Linked DNA regions of Homo sapiens: regions 2 and 3 are each linked to region 1. The links are contacts of gene promoters, found by promoter capture Hi-C in blood cells and fetal thymus (Javierre and others, 2016). All regions are on one chromosome and are shown on one strand. The core of a region is centred on a gene start or on the middle of the fragment in contact, and the rest is flanking DNA. Distances in the headings are between cores, read along the strand shown.

Region 1 (3,097 bases), core at 255-2,754:
TTTCTTTTTTTTTTTTAGAGATGGGGTTTCGCCATGTTGGCCAGGCTAGTCTCAAACTCCTGACCTCAGGTGATCCATCCGGCTTCCCAAAGTGCTGGGATTACAGGGGTGAGCTCTATTGCCAGGCTAGAGTGCAGCGGTGTGATCGTGGCTCATGGCAGCCTTTATCTTCCTGGGCTCAAGTGATCCTCCTGCCTCAGCCTCCAAAAGCCCAGCCAAGTTTTTGATTTTTTTGTAGAAAAGAGGTCTCACATGTTGCCCAGACTGAAGTGCAGTGATGCCATCACAGCTCACTGCAGCCTCAAGCTACCCAGGCTCAGGTGATTCTCCTGCCTCAGCCTCCTCAGTAGCTGGAACCACAGGCACGCACCAACACGCCTGGCTAATTTTGGTATTTTTTGTAGAGATGGGGTTTCACCATGTTGTCCAGGCTAGTCTCAGACTCCTGGACTCAAGCAATCCTCCCGCCTCTGCCCCACAAAATGCTAGGATTACAGGCATGAGCCACCGCACCTGGCCGGGATTCTTAATTCGTACATTTGGCTGTCAGTGTAAACAATCCTGAGTCAGGCCTGATATTAACCAGGCAGGAGGGAGAGAAGCTTAGCAGGGATCTAGAGGTGAAACCACCTGCCCAGATTCCAGTTACTTGTCTGCCCCTAGAGCCAAGACTCATTGATTCCGCCTCGGATTTATTGTGCATTTACTACTGCCAGACTCTGCCCCAGGCAGATACAACAGTGAGCCAAACACACAGCAAGACCCGCCCTGGGGGACGCTCTCCTAAGCCAGGCATCTGCAGCTCTTAAAGCCCTGGGTACCCCTCTCTCCCTACCCTGTCCCCCAAAGCTCTCTCTGGCTTGCTTTCTCCCTGCAGCCTGCAGCACTCCCAGCACTCCGAGTGGCCGGATGCGGGGGCTTAACCTCAGTTGGAAACTGTCCAGAGGAGCCCAGCGCTGCCAGGTACCCTTTAAGACCCTGGAGATCTGCCTTAGACCTGGGGGCGGGGGGAGGGGGGCGAGGGAGGAGGGTGGGGGGGGCGGGTAACGGAGGGGGGAGGACGAGGGGGGCGGGGGGGTTCCCAGGAGCCCGGACCCCACCGCTGCTCTTTCCTCTTAACCCCACAGGCCCCGAGGGTTCTGTGCGCACCGACTGTAGGAAGCGGAATGTTGAAAGCCGCTTGGGGGGATTTGCCCCCTCTGGTAGATACCAGAACTATGGATATGCCTTTATATATTGGGGGGCGGGGGGGGGCGGGGGCGAGCCCGTGGAGCCGCCCAACTTCGCAGAGATTAAAGCTTGAGCCTGAGACTCAGCGAGTCGCACCTCGGTGCCTGTGTGCACGCGCAGGCCCCCGAGGGGGCGTCGGGGGAGCAAGGGGTGGGGTGGGGGCGCCCCTACCAGCCCCGCGGTGCACGACGGCTCCCATTGGCTGGGGCTCGGGCGTCCTAGCCAATCCGGCCGCGGGGTGCGTTTCTCCTGACCCGGGTGGGACCGCACCCCGCGGACTCAGAAGCGAGCGGCACCCCGGGACCATCCCACAGCAGATCCAGTGGCCGCCAACGTCAGGCTGGTGAGGGCACGACGGGTGGGGTTCAGGGGCGGGGGTCAGGATGGGGAGACGGGTCGGAGCGAGGGCGCCCCCTCGGCCCCACGGAGTCCCCGTCCCGTCCCGTCTCGCAGGAGTTGCCTCCTTCGTGGATGTTGGATGTGGAAGCCCAGGAGCCCCCCAAGGGGAAATGGTCGACGCCGCCCTTCGACCCGCGCTTCCCCAGCCAGAACCAGATCCGTAACTGCTACCAGAACTTCCTGGGTGAGACCTGCTCAGCCAGGTTATGGGAGGAGCAGGGTGTGACAAGGGACGGCAGGGAGGGGCACTCCCACCCTAAGTCCCGCGGAGACCGTTAGGGTGGGAGGCCGGGCGGGGCCGGGTTGGTGGGGGCGGGGCCTGGTCGAGAAAAGGCGGGGCTGAGCCTGGAGGGGCGGGGCGAGGTTGGTAGGGGCGAGGCCTGATCTGGAAGGTGCGGGGCCGAGTCGTGAAGGTGCGGGGCGAGGTAGGTAGGGGCAGGGTCTGGGTAGGAGGAGCAGTGTGAGGGAGGTAGGGGTCGGGGCCTGGCTGGGAGGGGCGGGACGGAGGCCTCCAGGGGAGAGGGAGGCGGGACGAAGCAGCGAAGAACTGGGAGGGCCCGAGCAGTGGAGGGGCGGGTCCTGTCCTGGAATGGGCGTGGCTTGCCGCGTGACCCCCGCCCGCCACAGACTACCACCGCTGCCTCAAGACCAGGACCCGCCGCGGGAAGAGCACGCAGCCCTGCGAGTACTATTTCCGCGTGTACCACTCGCTGTGCCCCATCAGCTGGGTGAGTCGGCAGAGGGGGCGCCGGGCCAGGCGTGTGCAGGGCTCGGCCGAGGCTGAGCCGGCGTCCCGCTCCCTGCCTTTCTGCTTCCCAGGTGGAGAGCTGGAACGAGCAGATCAAGAACGGGATTTTCGCCGGCAAAATCTGACTGCCCCAGCGCGGCTTCCTCTGAAGATGCAGTGATCCTGCATCTTTTTGTCTCGCGGAGCCCCGGGTCTCGGTTATCCACCCCTACCTCCCAGTGTCTAAGCCACGAATAATGGTATGCTGTTGCTGATGTTTCTTCTTAATGCCCAGCCAGCGATGCGTCGTGGTGGTGGTGGGGATCCTCCGTGTGCCTGTGTCCGGGCTAACGCTGCTTTTTCCGATAAGGGGCAGGTGGGGGACTGCTGCTCCATCAGGTAGCAGCAGGCAGTCAAGGCCCTAAGACAGGAAGCCGAATGCCTCCCGTCCCCCTTCTCCCTCTCCATTCCAGCAGGTAGATGCCTCGCGTTGACAGCTACGAGCCAGCCCAGGGTCCCCAGTTCTCAACACTGTCCCACCCAGATGGCTCCAAGGTGCTCCTGCCTCCAATCACCACACCTACCTCTCACCTCAGTCCTTTCCCTACTCCCCTCCTGCCTGGACCATCTCCCCAGGCTCCTTCCCCATCCCACCCCTGATCCATCCCATCTCGGGTCCTGAGGGGTCTTCTTTGTACCACCCAGCGCTGACTCCATCCCTTCCTCCCCCACTCTCTGGGC
Region 2 (3,097 bases), core at 259-2,758, 160 kb before region 1:
GTGGTGGGATGAGGGGTCGTGGTGGGGTGAGGGGTTGTGGAGTGAGGGGTTGTGGTGGGCTGCATGGTGGTGAAGGGTTGAGGGGTTGTGGTGGGGTCAGGAATCATGGTGGAGTGAGTGATGGTGGTGAAGGGTTGAGGGGTTGTGGTGGGGTCAGGAATCATGGTGGAGTGAGTGATGGTGGTGGGGTGAGGGGTCGTGGTGGGGTGAGGGGTGGTAGGGAAGTGAGGGGTCACAGTAGGGTTAAGGGTTGTGATGGGGTCAGGGGCCATGGTGGGATCAGGGGTAGTAGTGGGGTGAGGGCTTGGGGAGGGGTCTGGGGATCTAGAATATTCTGAGACTGTACTGGAGTATGGAGTTGTGTCCAAATCTGGGGTTGTGTCAGATTCTGGGACCTGCTCTGAGGTAGGGGAAAGGCTGGTCACCTCCGACGGTGTAGAAGGGTCAGAGGTCAGCTCTTTGGGCAAGGTGGGTAAGGGCGTGGGTGAGGGCTCCGGGGTCAACGCGGGAACCACACTGGAGTCAGGGGTGGACAAAGCAAAGTCAGGGCTTGTCAAGATGAGGTCGGGGTTCGTCCGGGAGGCCGGGTCTGGGGTGGGTGGTGAAGTGTCCGGAGCGTCAGAGGTCGCCTCGGACGTCAAGGCTGAGTGGGGAGTGAGCTCTCGACTGGAGTCAGAGGTCAGCGCTGGGCCTGGGGGTCCCGGAGAGGCGGAGGGACCTGGGGACGGGGTTGGGGGCGCTGTCCTGGTCGCAGCGGGCCGCGGTGGCCGGCGCTCGGGCCACGGTTTCCTCGGGGAACCTGGAGGAGGAGGAAAGACAGACGGACGGTCTGAGGTCAACCGGCTCCGCCCACCACGCGTCCCGCCCCGCCCCTCGAGGAGCCGACCAATGGAAAGGCACAGAGCCTCGAGACGTCATGGGTCACCGGCAGACTTCACCCGGCCCTAGGGCCCCTCCTCCCTACGTCCTCCGATGGCTCCAGGCGCCACCTGGCGTCCTCCACTGCGGGAGGATGCGGGGATGCTCCGGACTCGGGGATGCCGAGGGGCACGCGGGTTGCGGGAGCGGGTGCAGGAGGGTGAGGTGAGGGAGGGATGCGTGGGGTGCTGGGGTGCGGGAGGGGGCGGGAGTGCTCAGAAGCGTGCAGCATACGGGAGGATTCTGAGCCAGCGGGGGACTGGGAGATGTGCGGAGCCAGGGGAGGCAGGGAGACCAAAGAGGGCTCCGAAGGGTAATGTTAGTAATCAAAATAAATACTTTTATGGATTTTTTTATTTTTTAAGATAAAGTCTGGCTGTGTCGCCCAAGCTGGAGTGCGGTGGCAAGATCATAGCTCACTGTAACCTCGAACTCCTGGGCTCAAGCGTTTTTATGCAATATTTTTAAACAATCAAAATTAATCCAAAAGATCCACAGTTAACCAAAGTTAACATTTTAACCAAAGACGGGATCCAACAGGGCCAGGATTAGGGGGAGCCCAGCGAGGCGGATAGGATCCTGTCTTCAGTGACTTTTTTTTTTTTTTTGAGATGGAGTCTCGCTCTGTCGCCCAGGCTGGAGTGCAGTGGCGTGATCTCGGCTCACTGCAAGCTCCGCCTCCCGGGTTCACACCATTCTCCTGCCTCAGCCTCCCGAGTAGCTGGGACTACAGGCGCCCGCCACCACACCAGGCTAATTTTTTGTATTTTTAGTAGAGACGGGGTTTCACCGTGTTGGCCAGGATGGTCTCGATCTCCTGACCTCGTGATCCGCCCGCCTGGGCCTCCCAAAGTGCTGGGATTACAGGCATGAGCCATCGCGCCCGGCCTTCAGTTACATTTTTGATACCGAGTTCATCATGGGTTTTTTTTTTTTTGGCATTAATTTTCATTTTAAAAAATACTGTATTATGATATTATGTATCTTGATTTTGGCGTTTTGGGCACCCCCTTAAATTTTGGGCCTGAGTAGCAGGAGGAGCCTGACCCTCTTCTGGGGCTGTCTTCCAAGTGAGTGCCAATTTTATCCCCATTTTACAGAAGGGGGAAATTAGGGCAAGAGGGCAGGTGACTCGCCCAAGGTCACACAGACATAGTTTGCAAGTTGCAGGGCTAAGACTTGAACCCAAGTTGTTTGCACATAGAGTCTAGGCAATGAAATCTCACATCTGCAGTGATGGGAATGCGCTGTGATCTACCGTGCCAATACAGTAGCCACTGGCCACATGTGGCTACCAAGCCCTTGAAATGCGGCCAGTGTGAATGAGAAACTAAATGTTTCATTTTCTTTTATTTTATTTTATTTTTTTTTTTGAGACGGAGTCTCACTCTGTCGCCCAGGTTAGAGTGCAGTGGCACGATCTCGCCTCACTGCCAGCTTTGCCTCCCAGGTTCATGCCATTCTCCTGCCTCAGCCTCCCGAGAAGCTGGGACTACAGGCGCTCGCCACCATGTCCTGCTAATTTTTTGTATTTTTAGTAGAGATGGGGTTTCACTGTGTTAGCCAGGACGGTCGCGATCTCCTGACCTCGTGATCCGCCCGCTTCGGCCTCCCAAAGTGCTGGGATTACAGGCGTGGCCACTGCGCCCGGCAAATGTTTCATTTTCAAAGTGTTAATTCATTTAACTTTTTTTTTTTTTTTTTTTTTGAGACGGAGTTTCACTCCTGTTGCCCAGGCTGGAGTGCAGTGGCGCGATCTTGGCTCGCTGCAATCTCCGCCTCCTGGGTTCAAGTGATTCTCCTGTGTCCACTTCCTGAGTAGCTGGGATGACAGGCATGTGCCACCATGCCCAGCTAATTTTTTTGTATTTTTAGTAGAGATGGGGTTTCACTATGTTGTTCAGGCTAGTCTTGAACCCCCGACCTCAGGTGATCTGCCTGCCTCAGCCTCCCAAAGTGCTGGAATTTCAGGCGTGAGCCACCATGCCCGGTGCTCTTAGCTACCGTATTGAACCACACAGATCTACAGATTTCCACTTGTTCCTGCAGGGCAGGGTCTTTCAGGCGCATCCCTTCCCCACCTTGTCCTTTGTTTGCAGGATTGGAGAAGCGGTTAAGTAAAGGGCTTGTGCTCAAGGCAGGCTGTCCGAGTTTAAACCCCAGCTGCATGGCTTCCTAG
Region 3 (3,097 bases), core at 353-2,852, 140 kb after region 1:
TGTCACTTCCTGGATCTTTCAATCCTGGCTGCCCGCAAGGCCAGGAAGAGCGAAAACAAGGGCTGGATTCAGCGGAAACACGGCAACACAGGACACAGCCACAGCGTGAGGAGCGAGCAAGCTGGAAAACCTGGATGGGGGTCTGGACTGGTTCACCTGCAATGAGATCAATGATCTAATCGCGGCAGGCGTGGTGGCTCATGCTTGTAATCCCAGCAGTTTGGGAGGCTGACGCGGGTGGATCACATGAAGTCAGGAGTTCGAGAACAGCGTAGTCAACATGGCAAAACCTCGTCTCTACTAAAAATACAAAAATTAGCCAGGCGTGGTGGCCAAGGCAGGAGAATCGCTTGAACCCAGGAGGCAGAGGTTGCAGTGAGCCGAGACGGTGCCACTGCACTCCAGCCTGGGTGACAGAATGAGATTCCATTTAAAAGAAAAAAAAAAATCTAATCCTGGATGAGAGTCCAGGGAAAGTGAGAGTGGAGAAAGCTTACATGAAAACGCAGACCAGATCCCTGAGTGTGGACCTGGAAAACGTGACACACGTCATCAGATTCAGATGAAGGGATATTGCCTGAAGTTTCATCAGCCTTCGGTGTGGAGTTGGCCTGATGTCCCCCAAGATGAATAGACTTGTCTCTACCCAAAGAAGCTTCTTCCACTCTGATAAAAGAAAGGAAAAATAGGCAAAGCCACAGACAATGTGATGAGTATTATAATAAGAGATTTGTTTAGTTTGGCTCCAAACATAGGAGGGAGTGGCCAACTGTATCTGGGGTCAACCAGAAGTAGAAAGAGAAGTAGGCCCTGGCTGGTGGAGAAATATTTTACCAGGCAGAGGGAACAGTGTGTGCAAAGGCCCTGAGGTTTGAATCCACCTGGAGTGCTAAGAAAAACATGCACGGACATCTGTGTAGCTGGAGTAAAGATAGGAGAAGAGGCTGGTGAGGTGGGCAGAGAGCAAATCTGAAAGAACTCCAATCTCAAGGTAAAGACATCATTCATTCATTCATTCCTTCATTCATTCAACAAATCACTGAGAAATTAATAAACACCTGTAAGTGTCCATTCCAGTGAGGATAAATTGCTATCCAGGAGTGAGGGGGAACAGCGTGATGTCTTATGGGTTGATAAGATGACCGAGGTCCCAGACAGTCTAAAGGGAATCACACTGACCTTCTGTCACTGTTGGAGTAAAGAACACTCTTCATTCAGGCTAACTTCTATAGGCAAAACGCCTTTTCCAGTTCATTAGCTGAATATCAGGTGCCAGGGGCTGTGCTGATTTGCTGAAGGAGACCTTACCCTGAGAAGACCAGCCACTTCCGAGGGTATCACCATTTTTTTTTTTTTTTTTTTGAGACGGAGTCTCGCTCTGTCTCCGAGGCTGGAGTGCAATGGCGCCATCTCTGCTCACTGCAAGCTCTGCCTCCCGGGTTCACGCCATTCTCCTGCCTCAGCCTCCCAAGTACCTGGGACTACAGGTGCCCACCACCACGCCCGGCTAATTTTTTGTATTTTTAGTAGAGACGGGGTTTCACCGTGGTCTTGATCTCCTGACCTCGTGATCCGCCCTCCTTGGCCTCCCAAAGTGCTGGGATCACAGCCGTGAGCCACTGAGCCCGGCCAGTATCACCATTTCTTACTTCTGTCTTCCAAGATCCATAAGCTCCTGCATAGATTAATCATGTGAATCAAAGGATAATGTTTAGGAATCACCCTCCCATATCCCACCCCTGTGTTTTCCAAGGCTTGATGCTGGCGCTGATCTCTGTGATTCCCTGGGTTGACTGTTTGGGAAGGATGATACTATGGTTTGGATCTGTGTCCCCACCAAATCTCATGTTGAAATGGAATCCCCAGTGTTGGAGGCCGGACTTGGTGGGAGGTGTTAGGATCTTGGGGATGGACCCCTCATGAATGGTTTAGTACCATCCCCATGGTGATGAGTGAGCTCACAAGAGATCTGGGTATTTTACAGTACGTGGCAAGGCCGGGCGCGGTGGCTCACACCTGTAATCTCAGCACTTTGGGAGGCCGAGGTGCATTGGATCGCCTGAGGTCAGGAGTTTGAGACCAGCCCGGACAACATGGCAAAACCCTATCTCTACTAAAAATACAAAAACTAGCTGGGAGTTGAACCCAGGAGGTGAAGGTTGCAGTGAGCCAAAATGGTGTCACTGCACTCCAGCCTGGGTGACAGAGGGAAACTCCATCTCAAAAATTTAATAATAATAAAATAAAAAAATAGAAGTGTGTGGCACCTCCCGTCCTCTCTCTCTTGCTCCTGCTTTCGACATGTTATGTGCCTGCTCCCTCTTCACCTTCCGCCATGAGTGGAAAAGCTCCCTGAGGCCTTCCCAGAAGCTGAGCAGATGCCAGCACCACGCTTCCTGTACAACCTGCAGAGCCGCGAGCCAATTAAAACTCTTTTCTTTATAAATTACCCAGTCTCAGGTATTTCTTTATAGCAATGAAAGACTGGCCCAATATAGATGGGGGAATTTCTAGGGGCTTCCATTTCTTCTTCCCACCATCAAAGCTTTCACACTACAGATCAGGGAAGCCAAAGCATTGTGTCTGCCATTTTATGAGAATGTCGATTTCAACTTCACTCTCAAGGCCTGAGGAAGGAGCCACACAGGGTCTTTAGAGTCCCGTTGACCCACTGTGTGATGGTCTTTAGGTGAACCCTCCGTTCGTTACCTGACAGCCCCAAGCACACCAGTCAGACCATGATTCACGGTGACCTGTGTGTGCCTCCAAATTAGGATTGATTCAGAGTCAGAGTCCAGTAGCCTTTTCTCTTTCTCTAATCCCCAGCGACCATGGATATTGGCCTTTAGGAGAAACTGGGAGGAAGGTTTACAGTATGTACTTTGACTAGTATCGGTGAGTCCTCCCTGAGGGAAAAGCATCCGCTACATGGAAGGGGTTCCAAGACTGAGAACTGGCTCAGGACTGGTAACAGGTGTGAGGCTTTAGGGGTGGACGTCGCTGGTGCTTCACCCAGATCTCCTTTGCAGGCACTGAGCACTCATTCTTAAGCAGTGTTGGCTGCTTGCAGATGCCACATTCTCAAGAGACTTGGTCT

What was found. Contacts are between HindIII fragments. The CHiCAGO score rates a contact against its expected background, and 5 or more counts as called.
Region 2: a fragment that was not itself captured here is called in contact with the fragment with the promoter of COX6B2 in region 1 in 1 of 17 cell types (fetal thymus); the score reaches 6.2 in fetal thymus.
Region 3: a contact is called between a fragment that was not itself captured here and the fragment with the promoter of COX6B2 in region 1, in 5 of 17 cell types (total CD8 T cells, erythroblasts, naive B cells and 2 more). The highest score is 8.1, in total CD8 T cells.

The regions. Positions count from the first base shown.
Region 1 is chr19:55,353,126-55,356,222 of GRCh38, reverse strand. It overlaps COX6B2 (cytochrome c oxidase subunit 6B2), which reads left to right and starts at 1,504. Exons shown (of 5, transcript NM_144613.5): 1 at 1,504-1,573; 2 at 1,684-1,813; 3 at 2,257-2,357; 4 at 2,449-2,616. The coding sequence starts at 1,702. The coding sequence ends at 2,502. It overlaps GARIN5B (golgi associated RAB2 interactor family member 5B), which reads left to right. Exons shown (of 11, transcript NM_001145402.2): 10 at 878-963; 11 at 1,128-1,315. The coding sequence ends at 923. RefSeq lists silencers at 1,920-1,969, 2,080-2,189. The HindIII fragment of the contact is 2,438 bases long and covers 1,301-3,097 here.
Region 2 is chr19:55,514,926-55,518,022 of GRCh38, reverse strand. It overlaps SSC5D (scavenger receptor cysteine rich family member with 5 domains), which reads right to left. Exons shown (of 14, transcript NM_001144950.2): 14 at 1-799. Among named protein-coding and RNA genes, the nearest start is that of SBK2, 21 kb to the left of the region's middle. RefSeq lists silencers at 627-806, 937-1,096 and an enhancer at 616-1,117. The HindIII fragment of the contact is 6,972 bases long and covers 1-3,097 here.
Region 3 is chr19:55,213,551-55,216,647 of GRCh38, reverse strand. It overlaps LOC124904771 (a long non-coding RNA gene), which reads right to left and starts at 1,059. Exons shown (of 2, transcript XR_007067346.1): 1 at 1-1,059. The HindIII fragment of the contact is 1,890 bases long and covers 658-2,547 here.